4 separate regions of the Homo sapiens genome follow, and all the other regions are linked to region 1. Evidence: promoter capture Hi-C in human tissues and cell types (Jung and others, 2019). All regions are on one chromosome and are shown on one strand. Each heading gives the region's core, a stretch centred on a gene start or on the middle of the fragment in contact. The rest is flanking DNA. Distances are from core to core; before and after follow the strand shown.

What was found. Contacts are between HindIII fragments. The study calls those that stand out against the background at their distance.
Region 2: a contact is called between a fragment that was not itself captured here and the fragment with the promoter of OCIAD2 in region 1, in 2 of the 25 tissues and cell types used here (aorta and lymphoblastoid cells).
Region 3: a fragment that was not itself captured here is called in contact with the fragment with the promoter of OCIAD2 in region 1 in 2 of the 25 tissues and cell types used here (aorta and dorsolateral prefrontal cortex).
Region 4: a contact is called between a fragment that was not itself captured here and the fragment with the promoter of OCIAD2 in region 1, in 4 of the 25 tissues and cell types used here (dorsolateral prefrontal cortex, liver, lymphoblastoid cells and 1 more).

The regions. Positions count from the first base shown.
Region 1 is chr4:48,904,895-48,908,958 of GRCh38, reverse strand. OCIAD2 (OCIA domain containing 2) reads left to right here and starts at 2,185. Exons shown (of 7, transcript NM_001014446.3): 1 at 2,185-2,301. RefSeq lists an enhancer at 1,878-1,957 and a silencer at 2,248-2,507. The HindIII fragment of the contact is 7,902 bases long and covers 1-4,064 here.
Region 2 is chr4:48,329,129-48,333,192 of GRCh38, reverse strand. No RefSeq gene overlaps it. Among named protein-coding and RNA genes, the nearest start is that of SLAIN2, 10 kb to the left of the region's middle. The HindIII fragment of the contact is 3,646 bases long and covers 52-3,697 here.
Region 3 is chr4:48,349,511-48,353,574 of GRCh38, reverse strand. The region is part of intron 1 of SLAIN2 (SLAIN motif family member 2); the gene reads right to left. Among named protein-coding and RNA genes, the nearest start is that of SLAIN2, 10 kb to the right of the region's middle. The HindIII fragment of the contact is 3,427 bases long and covers 169-3,595 here.
Region 4 is chr4:48,387,680-48,391,743 of GRCh38, reverse strand. All of the region lies in intron 6 of SLAIN2 (SLAIN motif family member 2), which reads right to left. Among named protein-coding and RNA genes, the nearest start is that of SLAIN2, 48 kb to the right of the region's middle. The HindIII fragment of the contact is 5,909 bases long and covers 1-4,064 here.

The sequences.
Region 1 (4,064 bases), core at 936-3,435:
AAACCAGTGAATCCATGGAGGAATGTGGTCTGGAGGATCTACTAGGGAAATGAACCATCCAAAACAACAGTATCTTGACAGTCATTGAACCTAGGCTCACTTATTCATTCATTCATTCATTCATTCATTCAACAAATATTTATTGAGCCCCTTCTATATCCAAGATGCTACACAATGGTGAACAAAACTGACACCATCTTGTTCTGAACCTCATGAAGATTACTCTGCAGCAGGGAAAATATGCTTTATATAAATGAACACACTAATAAGTACATAATGAGTTGTGATAAGTGCTATGAAGGAAAACAATAGTGTCCTGTGCTATGAAAAAGAAGAAAGGCCTGCCTTAGGCTGGGGTCAAGGAAGATTTTCCTGAGGAACAGTCAAAAAGAAGGAGTAGGAAAAAGCCAGGACAGGACCAATCGGGAGAGGCTGCAGGCAGGGGAGGGCCTCCAGTGGAAAAGAGCTGTGTGAATCTGAGAAACAACAAGTTGGAGGTGTGGATCGGGGAGGCGTGAGGAGGAAGCGGCCACAGGTACAGGGACCAATTCGCACAATAGGAAAAGGTGAGAAATGAAGAGGGCCTTCAGTGGAGATCCACAGCCTCTCTCCAAGTCAACACACTCAGTCAGTCCTGGCAGCTCAGCCCAGAAAACTTTGTCAGCCATGGCTGGGGTAACTGTGTCCAGAGGTGTTTGAACAAGAGCCACTCCATCTTGAATAGGGACTGAGTAAAATAAGGCTGAAACCTACTGGGCTGCCTTCCCAGGTGGTTCAGCATTCTTAGTCACAGGATGAGATAGAAGGTTGGCACAAGGTACAGGTCACAAAGACTTTGCTGATGAAACAGGACTCAGTAAAGAAGCCAGCCAAGACCCACCAAAATCAAGATGGTCATGAAAGTGACCTCTGGTCGTCCTCATTACTCATTAAATGCTAATTTTAATGCATTAGCCTGATAAAAGACCCTCCCACCAGGGCCATGACAGTTTACAAGTGCCATGGCAACGTCAGAAAGTTACCCTATATGGTCTAAAAAGTGAAGGAACCCTCAGTTCCGGGAATTGCCCACCCTTTTCCTGGAAAATTCATGAATAATCCACCCCTTGTTTAGCATAGAATCAAGAAATAACTACCAGTATAATTAGCTAAGCAGCCCACACAGCTGCTCTGCCAGTGGAGTAGCCATTCTTTTTTGTTGTTGTTCTTCTTGTTTTTTGTTTTTTTTTTGTTTTTTTTTTTTTTGAGACAGAGTCTGGCTCTGTCGCCCAAGCTGGAGTGCAGTGGCGCAATCTCGGCTCACTGCAACCTCTGCCTCCGGAGTTCAAGCGATTCTCCTGCCTCAGCCTCCCGAGTAGCTGGGATTACAGGCATAGAGCACCATGCCTGGCTAACTTTTCGTATTTTTAGTAGAGAGAGTGTTTCACCATGTTGGCCAGGCTGGTCTGAACTCCTGAGCTCAAGTGATCTGCCTGCCTTTGCCTCCCAAAGTGTTGGGATTATGGGCGTGAGCCACCGCACCCGGCCTGTTTTCTATACTTCCTTAATAAACTTGCTCTCACTCTACGGACTCACCCCGAATTCTTTCTTGCGAGAAGTCCAAGAACCCTCGCTTGGGGTCTGGATCGGGACCCCTCTCCGGTAACAAGTGATATCGGTATTAAAGGTACCCCCACATGTCAAAGGCTTCCCTCCACAAGTCAGAGTTGGGGAGGGACAGGAGGCAGCAGGGGACCGACAAAGAGCAATGGAAAGAGAAGGCCTGGGAGCCAAGCAGGCCTGGGGTTGACTCCAGGCTCCCTTAGTGGCCTGCACAACTCAGATGACCCGTCTGTGAAGTGCAGGTCACAGTGGGCACCACACACGGCTGCAGAAAGGAGTGCAAAGGTGATGCCCACGCCTGGCCTAGGGCGGGGGCGCAATACATGGCTGTTGCGGCTGTGATTGCTGGAGGAAGGGAGTCATTTGGAAGGCACAAAGGAACTAGAACCTACTCGGTGTCGGGACAAGCCTCAAGGATGGGGCAGGGGTTCCGGCAAGAGCTGGGTTCCAGCCTGGGTTGCCACCAACAGCGAAAGTGACTGCCAGGTGGCAGTAGGGTGACTTCACCAGCTTAAGTGCTTAGCGGGCAGGCGAGGGGGCGGAGCAAGAGAAGAAAACACAAAGGGCCGGAAGGAAGCCGGGGAGACAGGTGGGGTACTCGGGAAGCTGGAGCGGGCCGGCGGTGCAGTCACGGGGGAGCGAGGCCTGCTGGGCTTGGCAACGAGGGACTCGGCCTCGGAGGCGACCCAGACCACACAGGTGAGCCCCCGCCCCGGGGAGTGTTGACGGCGGGAGGGGGTGGCCTCGGGGGAACGCGGCGCCGCAGGGCAGTCCTTCGAAGGCCGCGCGGTGCAGCGGTGGCCGCCCCCCACTCTCCCCTAACTCGGACCCCGGCGGCCCCGGCACGGGCGAGGGGCTGGGGAGCTTGGGGTGGCGCTGGCTGCTTCTGGCCAGGGATGGCAGCGGACTCCAGTAGGCTGACTCCCGGCTTCCCCGACCGCATCAGAAAGTGCAGTGTCCCCCGTCCGCCGTCCAGCCCTGCAGGCGCCCCCCTCCAAGCCATCCTAAGAAGCACCCCCGCCCCCCATGCTGGGGCGCGCCCTCCTCCGCACATTCGTCGGTCAGCACCCACGAACCCACGGGTCCCTTCCCCACCACTGAGGAAACAGAGGGTCCCCGGACCACCCCAGCGTGGGGGGTGGGAGCTACACCTGCAAGGCAAGACCCTCGGAAGGCTTGCTTTTAGGTGCAGACTGAGGACTAAGTGGGTGCCAGGGGACCTGGCCACCGAAGCTGAGAGGTATATTTGCCTCCCAATATAGGGCAGCGGCCTAATGGCTAAGCAAAGATAATCTAATTTGGCGTGGTCAGCAAAGACTTCCTGGGAGTGCTCAGGAAATGGAAGGTGTGCAGGGGCTTTATGGACGTATCCCTCATCCTCATCCTCATCCTAGTCTTCATTCCTGCAAGAGCCCCTCACCATTGTTGTGTCCATTATGCCCAATTAACAGTGGAGAAAGCTGAGGCAGAGACGGATTAAGTCATTTGCACCAAAGGGATCGCAGGGGTAAAGAGTCACGATTTGAACTCTGGTCTCTCTGACCCCAGTACTTTCCCGTGCAGGGCACCGTGCTGCCCCTGTAATCACATTAGACACCTGTGATGAAACTTGGTGCGAGTACGGGTCCCCTTGGCTCAAATGCCTCAAAGTTTAGTAACTGATGTAGGAAACAGAATTGTATATAAGAGGTTCATTTTGCAGAAGAAAAGCAGAGGTAGAGGTAGAGTTCAGGGCTGCAGAATGCAGTGGCCACTGGGGGCAGGAGGAGGCTCAAAGTCCACCTGGATTATGTCCATCATTGCCAAATCCAGGGTCCACTTTTCTAAGCCATGTGATGGTGTTGATGATTCACTCCCTCCTTCAGAAATTCCCTCCCCTCTGTATCAGCTATTCCTTCTCAGTCATTTCCTTGGCCTGCTTTTTTTTTTTTAATCTTTCTTCTCTTTTCGATATTCCCTTGGGCTCAGTGTTCATATTCTCCAGTACTGTTTTTAGACACATTTATTAAAGTTCCCTGCTTTAACTCTCATCTCTATGATGGCAGCTCCCAACTTCATCTCTCTAGCCTACCCCTGTTCTGGAACTCTAGACCCAAATCGTCAAATATTAACAGTGGCTAATTCCACTGTTTGCCCCCACAGGCACCCAAATCCAACATTTCCAAACCCAAATTTAGCATCTCTATCAAAGATGCTAAATTCCCACCAGGGTCTTTGTTCACGTCCCTGTAACTCCTTGTCTGGACTAGTGTACCACCTTCCAACCTGGTCCTCCTGCCCCAGAGTCCATCTACCCTCCACAGATCCTCCTGAAAGCTTAGGAGTCCTAGTTCCTTTGTGACATGACTAGATGGAATGGACCCTGCTTTCTTTTCTTCCTTAGCATCCCATGCATACTTTTCATGTTGTGTAACTGTTGACTTGTCTATCTCCCCTTTTGGACTGTGAATTCCTTCACAGCG
Region 2 (4,064 bases), core at 625-3,124, 580 kb after region 1:
AGAAAAGAGATGAAGATCTCCATGAAGCTCCAGGAAAGCTGGTTCAAAATGGTGCTTATGGTATACACCTTTAGCACAAGAAGCAGGAAAGGATATGAAAATGTATACATAAATGCTTATGTTTGTAAAAAGATACAATCGAAAGATAAACCCAAAATCAATAAAAATGTTAAACAAATGGAGAAGGAGGGAATAGAGTGAAGGGCATAGAAATAGTGCTATGGAGAAGAAATACATCGAGAAAGGAGGATAGGGAATGTGGGTGAGGGCAGAATTGCAATTTTATTATTTATTTATTTTGAAACAAGGCCTTGCTCTGTCACCCAGGCTGGAGTGCAGTGGTGCAATCTCAGCTCACTGCAATCTCTGCCTCCTGGGCTGAAGCAGTCCTCCCACTTCAGCCCCCAGAGTGGCTGGGACCACAGGCATATACCACCGCGCCCAGCTAATTTTTCTATTTTTTGTAGAGATGGAGTTTTGCTGTGTTGCACAGGCTGGTCTCCAAATTCTGTACTCAAGTGATCCACCCGCCTTGGCCTCCCACAGTGCTGGGATTACAGGTGTGAGCCATTGCTCCTGGCCAAGATTACAATTTTATTTTATTTTTTTGAGAGAGAGTCTCTCTGTGTCACCCAGGCTGGAGTGCTGTGGCGCAATCTCGGCTCACTGCAACCTCGCCTCCCTGATTCAAGTGATTCTCCTGCCTCAGCCTCCCAAGCAGCTGAGATTACAGGTGCCCACCACCAGGCCCAGCTAATTTTTGTTATTTTTGTAGAGACAGGGTTTCACCATATTGGCCAGGCTGGTCTCGAACTCCGGACCTCAAGTAATCCACCCACCTTGGCCTCCCAAAATGCTGGGATTACAGGCGTGAGCCACTGTGCCCGGCCGGGATTGCAATTTTAAATAGGGTGCTCAGGGCAGGCCTCGCCTAGAAGATGATGTTTGAACAAAACTCTGAAGGAGGGTGAGGGAGCCAACCAGGCAGGAAACTGCGGATGAGCATACCAAGCAGAAGAGCAAGTACAAAGGCCCTGAGGCAATAATGTGCCTGGCTTCAGGGAAAAACAAGGTTGGATGACTAAACTGGAATGAGTGTCAAAGAGCGTGGTGGAAAATGAAGTCAGAGAGATGGAGGAAAGATTCCTTACAGCCTGTAGTCAGTTGTGAAGACTGACTTTTACTCCGTATGACATAAGACAAGGCAGGATTTGAGCCGAGGAGTGACAGGACCTAACTTATATTTTGATGGGCTCTCTCTCTGTTTCTTGCATGTTTGCCATTTGCCCCCTTCCCCCTTATTCTATCTCAGAACCCCTGCTTACTCATGTTCTGTGTTCTCTAACATCAGTCTACATGTGGCGTTGGGTTTGGTGTTGTAACAACTGGTGACATTTCAGTTCATGTGACTACTATGACCTAATCACTCAGTCTCTCAGTGTCCCAATTCCAGATTCTTGGGTGACATAATATTAGACTCACATATTATTAGACTAACTAATATTAGCCCACCATGGTACAGCATGCTGAGGCTGGAGTCAGAAGTGAGCAGAATCCTGTAATATTTCCAAGAGGGAATATGGGCAGACAGGCAATGGTTAGCACATCAACTTCATCAAGTACTTCAAATATTTTGGTTTCTCAATAAATATATACATGAGTTAATAAATCTAGCATATTTAGTAAACAACTTATAATCCTACCTACTGTTGTAATGCTCAGTAACCACTTCAGAGTAACAGTAATAATAGATGACTTTATACTAAATGATGGCTTTACACTAAAACAGGTTTCTAAAACTATCTGTGGTAAGAACCAGTTTTCTTATTTGTATTTCCAAATAGTCTCCATAGGAGAATGATGTTTTTGTAAAATATGCTAAAAATGAATTCCTTGACAAATTAAATTTTAAAAAGATATGCAAAATTGAAAAAATTTTTTTTGTTATTAGATTCAACAGACAGAAGATTGCTACGTCAAATTGCTCTAGGTTTCTAAATGCTTAGTCTCAATTTCTGTACTGATCACACACCAGTAACAGTTCCATACTTTAAATAGCACTGTACTAAAACTCACTTATCTAAATAGTAAATTTTATAATAATGATGGTCAATTAATGGCATTTAATATTCTGAATGAACATTAAAGAATGTGAAGTTGTTTTGCTGTTTTACTTCTCTGACTTTTCTCATTAGATAAGCTAGTGTCTTGCATGTAGATTCTAATGGATATTTGTTATTGAAATATTCCTCTAGCTTAAGAACATATTTTCTCACATGAAAAACAGTGTGTAATTTGTTCCACTTAGATTTGCTAGTAGATTGCTGGGCACGGTGGCTCATGCCTGTAATCCCAGCACTTTGGGTGGCCGAGGCGGGCAGATCACGAGGTCAGGAGATCGAGATTTGCTAGTAGATTAACTCTACTGCTAAATATGACTGAAATCATTTCATTTTCTCTTGGGTTAGAAATGGGAGAAACAAGGAAAAAACAGGGATTATCTTTCTTAAATTTCAGAGACAGACAAAAAAAGTATTAACACTGATTTAGAGGGAAGGAAGCTTCTAAATACTCATCCTTCACTGAGATCTAAAATCCTGGTATTGTAATTGATTTGAGGACCATTTTCTTAATTTACTATTTAAGTGCTTAATTGGTATGCTAAATTTTCTATAAAGTGAGTTAAACTAATTCAAGCCCAATAGTTTATGGCTTCAACAACTTAAGACAAATTACATATGAGCAAGTTGTTTGCCCTTAAGCAGGAAAAACATCAAACAATACCCTACTTGCCCCTTTACTACAGTTTCTCTTTAAGGAACAGAAACAGAAAATTAAAAATGAGAGGCCATTAATGAAATTATTTCAAATTCATCATTTGAATACAATAAACAAATAAATCACTGGTTTACTTACAAGCTACCATTCTACAACAATCAGTCAGAGAGAAATTATAGAGTAAGTTTAAACTGGTAGCAGTAAGCCTAGATTAGTGATTCATCTCCTAAGACTCTATGACTTCATCATCCACAGAATTGTGGCTAACCAGAATTTCAAAAGCATGTATAAATATAATAAAAATATCTGAAATGGTTATCAAGAGTTCCCAGGGTATTCAATCCCCTTAGTTCTGCCTTAGAATTTTTAAAAAGTATCTGTAAGTGTTCCAATTTTTTTTATTCATACAGAATCAGAATACTTCAGATTCCCTCAAGCAGGAAAAACATCAAACAATACCCTACTTTCCCCTTTGCTACAATATTTCTTTAAGAAACAGAAACAGAAAATAAAAAATGAGAGTCCATGAAAAAATTATTTCAAATTCATCATTGCCAGGAATTAAATTGTTCTCCTTCATATAGATTATTGTGACACATTAATATTGTTTTCAAAATTACCTTTTAGAGATATCAATATTTTTCTTAAGAAAAACAATCTAATGGTAAATGTTTTCTAAAATACAAATTAATAAATATTCCCTGAATTCATTTGTAACAAGTGCTAAACTTATTGCCTTAGTCTATGTAGAAGGTACCACAGCTCCAGAGATGTTATCTATGGTGGATATCTATAGTTTTTTCTGCTTAGCTCTTCTTCCACACCTGCTTGTTAACAGGAAGACATTTCTCCATGGATCTCTTGCATTTCTGCACATCTTGTGATGTGACACTGGCTACTCTTGTTCTGCAATATCATTTCAGGGATGTTTACACAGCAAACAGTTTTGGAACAGAGATAATTTCTCCCTGTGCAGCAAACAGCAGATTTATTTACTATCCAATATAAAGATAAAGGTAATGTTTCCCTTCTGAGCAAAGGTCAGGTACTTACTGACAATTATAAAGATTTGGGTTCCCTAAGCTCGGAGTTTCTCACTGGTAACACAACCCACTGGGTGTATAAGCCCCACCTGGCTTTATTCATGTCTCCTTGTGGGAACCAGAGCAAATGCTGATACTCTGGGTACTATTGCTATGAGTGATACATTGTCCTTTGTCTCTAATGCAGGAATCTTGTGTCTTCTGCCATGAAACTTGAGGCAGGCTAACTTGATAGCTTGCAAG
Region 3 (4,064 bases), core at 633-3,132, 560 kb after region 1:
CTGACCAAATAAATGTTTGTTTCATGCATCGTGGAGAGTTTAACCCACGGATTCTTTGTTCATAGTTATTTTCACTATAAAGGAAAAAAAAAGTTTCCTTTTTTTTAATCTAACCTAGCCTTACTTTGCCTTTCAAGACTGACCATGAAGTCTTTTTTGAAGCTTTCATGAAGCTTTCCAACCATCAAAGTTCTTATGACTATTTCTTACCATGATAGATAGTGCTCCACCTATGGCAGGTACTCAATAAATGTCTGATGATTACTTCTTGGGTGACCATTCATTCCAGTTTCCCCAAGGCAGTTCTAATTTAAATCTACTGTTCTGACATCTCATCTGGTTAGTGCTCCATTGACTCTCAAGTAGTGCCCAATCCCTTAACTTATTCTTAATTTTCAGAACCACACAGTATTAGTTGGTTTTCACACTGCTGATAAAGACATCCCTGAGACTGGGCAATTTACAAAAGAGGTTTAATTGGACTTACAGTTCCACAAGGCTGGGGAAACCTCACAATCATGGTGGAAGGCAAGCAGGAGCAAGTCACATCTTACATGGATTGCAGCAGGCAAAGGGAGAATGAGGAAGACACAAAAGCGGAAACCTCTGATAAAACTATCAGATCTTGCGAGAGTTAACTCACCATCTAGAGAACAGTATAGGGGAAAACGCCCCATGAGTCAATTATCTCCCACCAGGTCCCTCCCACAACACGTGGGGCTTATGGGAGTACAATTCAAGATGAGATTTGGGTGGGGACACACAGCCAAACCATATCAAGCACTATTTTTGACTTAGAAAATGTAAATGGAGCAAAGTAACTAGAATACGAAACTTATTACTGCAATACAGTACTAGTTATTTCTGGTCATGTTGACACCATACCATAAGTATCCTTTAAGGCAATGGTTCTTAACCTGTGGTAATTTTGCCCCAAAGGGACACCTGGCAACATCTGGAGACATTTTTGATTGGCCAGGGATGCTGCTGGACATCCTACAACACACAGGATAGCACCCACAACAAAGAGTTATCTGACCCAAATGTCAAGGTTGCAGAATCCTGTTTGGGATTATCCTTACAATAACATTAATAAGATCAAAATGACATTTTTAAACAATGTGAATGTTTTTTAAGAGGAACTAAACAATCTTGAAACCAAAATGATATCTATTATTTCCTTCATAGGTAAATGGCCTAATCTTTAATCATTTAGCTTGATGTGATGTGATGGTTTTCATGCAACATATTATAAGTAGTTGGTATGAAATGGAAAGAGTATCACTGTGGACTCAATAGTTTGGTTTGAATTCAATACTTTGGTTTGAATACTTCAGGGCAGAAGAGGTGGACACAAACCTCAGAGGCTGTTTTCTAGCCAATAAAGGTAGCTATGACTTGTGTTCTCGCCTACATACTATTGCCACACTAACCTCTCCAAAATGCCATTTTGTTAAAAGCATTCCAATATTCAAAAACTCTCCTCCTAGATTTCACAGGCCATTCACAGTATGATCTCCAACCCAATGATTCAGCTTTCTCACTTGTTCCCTAACAAACATCCCTTTAGTTAAGATCTTCACAGGCCTTTTCTCTACCCTACTCAAATGTATCACTCGCTCTTTTCCCTAAACTTGTTGATTCTCACAGACAGCAAAAAATACCTTTCCATGTGTGCCCAAATCCAAAGTCCCGGCTCTCACTTTTAAGCCCATATACACCTTTCTTCTAGAAAATATTACTGGTTTCAGAGAGAACAGAATTCTATGTTCATTCTGTCTCCTAACCAAACTCTAAACACCTTGAAAGCTTATGCTCCACTCAGTAATTTAAACAAATATTTATACAGCAGTTACCACTGGCCAGACATGGCGTTAGACAGAAATGTGAAGATGAATTAAGATATAACTAGATTATTACACCTCACATAAAGGTTGTTAGCCTCTTTCACTCGCAGGCTGCACTACCATCAAGACTTACCGTGCCTGCTCATCAAGTTCCAAACCTCTAGATTCAGGTTTCTAGGATTCATCAGTTTTTTGGGTTTTGCTTCTTAATCCACTCCACCATCAGTCCTAAGTATAACCAATGGCAAATAAGAGTTTCACTGTGACAGGTCAACACAAGATTCATTATCTCCCACTCAGAGGAGAAATGAGCAGGCCCACTCAAAAGATATAAGCATTCAAAGCCTAAAATTACTAAAGTACTCTTTCTGTATCTACTAAATAGGTATTAGCAAAAACACACAATTTAGTCTGATTATCACTATAGAATATAGTACCGATTAGGTATTAAATGCATACTAAAAACCTAACTTGAGAGTACCTATTAAATCCCATTCCTCAAGCTTATTGGAGTCAAGGGTCACTTACAGACTAGCTTGGCCCACTCCTGGTTCTCATTCACACTTTTCAAACAAAATAAGCCTCAAGAGCCACACATAATTGGGTACTTTCTTACTGTCTCACAGAGAGAGGAGCAGAAGCTCCTGAATGGAGTAGGAGAGGGATGTGTGGGGGAGGAGTTTCAGTCTAGTACACTGCAGAAGTGGGAGATGATTTGATTCATCCTCATGAATTATAAACCTGATTTTTAACTAAATACAACTTCCTTTGTCTTATCTTTCCAAATACTTTCAAGAATTTCATATCTGATACCGTGGTACTACATTATATTGCATCTATTATTCTTCATATTTCAAGGAGATAGAATCAATATTTTTTTCTCTAAAGTCTCTAATTTCTATTTTATTCCAGAATGTGAGACCTTTCCCAGATCAAAGTAAACTGTTCTGCAATTTCTGAGCCACTCCTAAAGACCTAGTTTAAAGCCTTCCTCTTAAATAAGCTAGTTTGTCCTAAAGTTGTTCATTTCCTCCATAACTTCGATCCCAAAAGATCTCAGAAGACGTAATTTTGAGTAAATGAAAGAGGTGAAATAAGAACTTATTATTACCAAAGCCTTAAAACCTACATTATTTTACAAATTCATTTTTGCTACTGAAAATTAGCCCAACAGGAGTCACATGCAATGTGCTCTGGGTAGTACAGATAATTACTACAAGGAATAGTGTATTCAGGTAATGCAAACCATTTATATTAAGACACTACTTAATTCTGCTATTTACTGCCCAAATTGCCATTTTAAAAAATAATGTCAAAATTACATGAATTTATATAGTTATAGATATGTTCCTAGCAGAAGGGTAAGGAGGCAGGGGTCTGCGTAAGTGGAAGTAGAAGGCAAGTAGCCTTTTTGGGCTACCAGGGTATCAGCACCAGGTTCCCTGGGCAATCTGGCATAGGAATTTGAATACACGGAGGCCCCAAAGATGGGGACTGAGGAGCAGTAGCAACATCAGTGATCCAGAAGGCTCACAGGATGTGAGCTATACAACTTTGGTGTTCCTTATCTGATATTCCTAAAAACCAAAGTTGTGTTTTTCATGAAAACAGACTACATGATTTATTTAGGTAGATCTGATAAATGTTTTAATAGTTACACTTGTGGAATTTAATTTTTTAAGTGTAAAGTTAAGAACATTCTAAGAAGCATTCTAAATCACTTTCGGTCCTGGGTGCTACCCAGTTCAATAAATGTTTTTTTTGCCCAATTAAATTGTTAAATTTAAAACAAACAAGAATAATAGATCATAAGATCAAATACATATCTTGGGTTCCAATTCTATCAAAAATGTGCTATCATTACAGCACAGTGCTCCACCTATGGCAGTTACTCAATAAATGAAACCATATTTGTTGAAGCCAAAATGTATCCATCTGTGATATATAATCTTACTACTACTAAGTAACAAGGAAAACTACAAGTAAAAAGGCTTCTAATGTATCATGTTATATTATGATCCCCACATGATCACAGAGTAATAAAACTGACTTAAATTTTATCAATAGGATTTTTTAAATTCTAAAAGCAATTCATGTCTTATCAGAAAACTTGGAAATCACAAAAAGTACAAAGAAGTTTAAAACAAAGTGCTTCTGTAATCCTACTAAACAGAGCGATGCCAGTATTTTGGCTAATTTTTAAACTTATTTTAAAAA
Region 4 (4,064 bases), core at 802-3,301, 520 kb after region 1:
TGTCTCCTAAATAACCAAATTCAGGCCTTCATCACACCCTATTTCTGGAATTCCAATCAGTGTTTTTTGTGGTCTCCCTATAGTTAATCCTTTTCACTCTGCTCATGTACATCAAGGGAAGGGTGGTGAAAGTGCTGCTCACCTCCCCAAGAGTAGGCAATAAGTGGGTGTATTGTCTGTAGGCAATTTGGAAACAAAAATAAAACCAAGTTGGTCGGCTTTCTATTATCATCATGCCCCAGCAATAATAAACATCAGTTATAAAAGCACTCCTCCCTGAAAAATAGTTGGTCTAAGCTATAAACAACTGTTGAGTTTTAATAACACACATGTAAGCTTTAAGTAAGCACATTTTATGACTTATACTTTAATAAATACCGCACTTCATGTAAGACTTAATTAGGAAAGCTCCCAGTTACAGTCTTCTACTTAAAGTCTCCCCTGATACAGGTGGATTCCACTACACATGTTCCTTTCAAGAGAAAGTTGGTAGCAATCTGAAATTATTCAAGCTCACTTCAGCGAAATGTGTGCCTCCAACCCTGTGGTACAATATATTATTATATTTAAGCATATTAGAAATAAACAACAATGGTACAGTGATTTTTAAAGTCAATGAAAGGATTTGGAGTTGCCTCAATTCTGTCATTATATGCGATTTTGAGCTTGTGTTTAAAATATTTTAACTGCGAAGACACTGAAAAATCATTAGACTTGATCCTTCAAAAACAAAGGCAAGGAAAGTATGGCAATTTCTGGAATTTACTGGAGGATGGAATTTTAAGAATCTCTGCTGAACTTATCCTTATGCTGAAGATTTTCTCTGTGTAGCAGTTGCTTCATGAAAAAAACTTTCAAAATTAAAATTTAAAGATAGTGTTCTTCCATCAAGTAAGAGTAGACAGATTGATAAATCTGGCTATGATGTACTAAGCCCCAATATCGAAAGATCAATTCTGAAGAAGCTATTGATAAGTTTTCAAAAACGAAAGCTATACTATTCACCACTGTGACAGATCAATATATAAAAACATTTTTCCTTTTTAAAAAAATGATCAATGTAACTTCAAATTATTAACCCATTGTCTATTTTTGTATTATAATGTTGATTTTATTATTTATTTTTTACTGACAGTTATAAAATACAATTTCAATAGAAGAATATTTTCACTGTCTGCATTTTTTTCCTGGCCATTAGTACTATAACTAGTTTCATGATAATTGAAAATGATTTTTTCATATATAAGAGGATGTTAAAAATTAGCTTCTCTAGGTGCTAAATACTAAGTAAGCACAGCCTCTGTGAGTGAAGATTAATTACTGCTAGGTAAAATACCCCATTGTCCCATAACCTCATTTTTGTTTAAATCTTTTATTTCTTAGAAGTTTTGATTTAGAGTCATTTGGGAGGCCGAGGCGGGAGGATCACTTAAGATGAGGAGTTCAAGACCAGCCTAGCCAACATGGTGAAACTCCATCTCTACTAAAAATACAAAAAATTAGCCAGGCATGGTGGTGCGTGCCTGTAATCCCACCTACTAAGAGGGAGGCTGAGGCAGGGGAATTGCTGGAACCTGGGAGGTGGAGGTTGCAGTAAGCTGTGATCACGCCACCGCCGCTCCAGCCTGGGAGACAGAGTCTCAGGAAAAAAAAAAAAAAGAAAAAGAAAAAAAGAAAACAAAATTCATCCAGATCTCATCACCCTCACTCCCTCACTGCTGTGTCTTCAGATCTTAATTTCTTGCCTAGATTATGCAATAATAGCCTAAGTGGTTTCTAGTCTCACCTCACTGAATCTTTTCTCCACACTGATATCAGAGTGAACTTCCTAAGAAACCACCTTGATTAAAAGCCAAATATGGCTCCTCCCACTTACAGGATGAAATTCAAACTCCTATGATATTTTAAAACTCCTACAGCCTGTCCTGTCTCTATAGCTATCATCCCCTCATGGGATGCTGTACCCGCTCCCTTACCCATCATACACCCTACACTTTAGTTATACAAAACCACTATACTCAGGCTGCCATTCTCAAGACTTTTCATTACTGATCCCACTGTTGGGAAAACCTATATCTCCTTTCTTTGTTGGGCAACTCATATAAGCTCCTTCTGAGCTGGCTGAGATATCTTTTAATATCTTTCCTGAAAATCCCTTCACACTGCTGAATTTAATGCCTCTCCTCTGTTCCCACAGAGGTTCCTGTCTAACTCTCCCTGCTACTGGAAGGCGTGGGCTGTCTTAACATTTATATTCCCAATGCTGGAAATATAACATATACCCAATAATATCTACTGAATAATTAAGGAACACATAAGTGACTGACCACTGGATAAAATCCAGAACTCTATACTAAGCATTCAAGGTCCACCAAAGTCAGGGTTTAACCCACTGGTTCTCAAACTTGAACGTGCTCCAGAATCAACTGAGATGCTTCTAAAATACACAATCTGGGTCCCTATCCCAAGGGCATTCAATCAAAATTTCCAGCGGTAAAGGCCAGAAAAACTACCTTTATAAAGTGTCCTTGTGATTAGATAACTGAGCCAACATCACTGTACTACTTAAATAGATGTTCTATAAATGTTTCATTCATTCTTAGATTAGCACATTACACATATTAATCATGACTTATTTATTTCAATTTGTGTTTCAAAATTATGTATATTTCAAGTGTAATCTACTAGTGTTTTGGTAGTAAGTGAAATCTGGATGGGAATTCCTTCCTCACTGGTCTCATAACAGGATGGCTATGCATAAGCTGACAACTGCCCTGGACAGTCGTCCTTCTCTCTTCAGTAAGAGGTCCAAGTACAATGTTGATGCTATATGCATTTTCTCTGGGGTATACTCTGTATTCCATGCAAAAATATTCTTTTGTTTGGCTAAATGTAAGCAAATGGATAATATCTCACTAAATTATTTTACTCGTCTGTGGTAATTCACAAAATACTTACAGTTAATCTCAAATCATGGTCTGACAGTCATTCAAGAATGTTTTCCAAGATGCACTCATTTGTAATTAGGTCAGCATGATCTCATCCAAACAATGAGGAAGAGGAAAATAGGAGACTCAGGGAGGAGCTGGGAAGAGGGAGAAATCTGGCCTTGCTTTTACCACTTCCCTAGTTATATGGCCTTGTACAATTCATTTAATTTATATGGATCTCTGTTCCCTTTCTATAAAAATAAATGATTTCTGATGTTTAAATGAAATAATACACTTAAACATTTACAAACAAATAAAATTTGGGTATCATTTTTTAAATCAGTAGATTGTGTTGGGTTTTTCTCCCTTCCCTTATTTCTCAACCAATTATTCCTATGACTTTCTGGAAACTAAACTTTCTGCTAAACCTGTGCTTTAACAGTCTTAGAAAGCAAGGCATTAGCCTTTTGAAAAACTCTCTCACGAACATTCCTTCCTTTAATTGATGAAACTAAGAAATTGACATGTATCCATGACCTCTGCAATGCTCTGGTTTTCTTAAACTTTTTAAGTTATATTTTCCAAATATAAAAGTCAAAAATTGGTAATAGTTATAAAAATGAAGATACATTAGAACTCTCATAAATCTCATATTTCAATGCCAGCATCCACAATAATGCAGCCACAGCAAATAAGCATATAAAAATAGTGATTGGCATAGTAACAAGGCAAAAGAAGTGATCCCTTAGGTGGAAGTAACAGCAACCTTGCAAAGTTAGGTTCATGCAGACCAGCAAGTAAGAACCAAAGCTTTACCACTTAAGAGCTGAAAAAATAAATACTTAAAACAAAATGCAACATCTGTTACACTAACAACTGAAGTTTACACAAAAAATACAAAATACCAATTCATGTATAAAGTATATAAAGCTTATTATAATAATTGTACAAATTATATAAAGACTATTATGAAAACTATGTATACTAATTTAAAAAATGCTTACATATATATTTTCATGTATCAAATATATATGAAATTTCAAGATAAATTGGTAACACTTTTTTTGCTTCATGTTAACTTTCAACAAAGTTTTAAACATTTTAAAGTAAACTTTACTAAGTTTTAAACTTGCT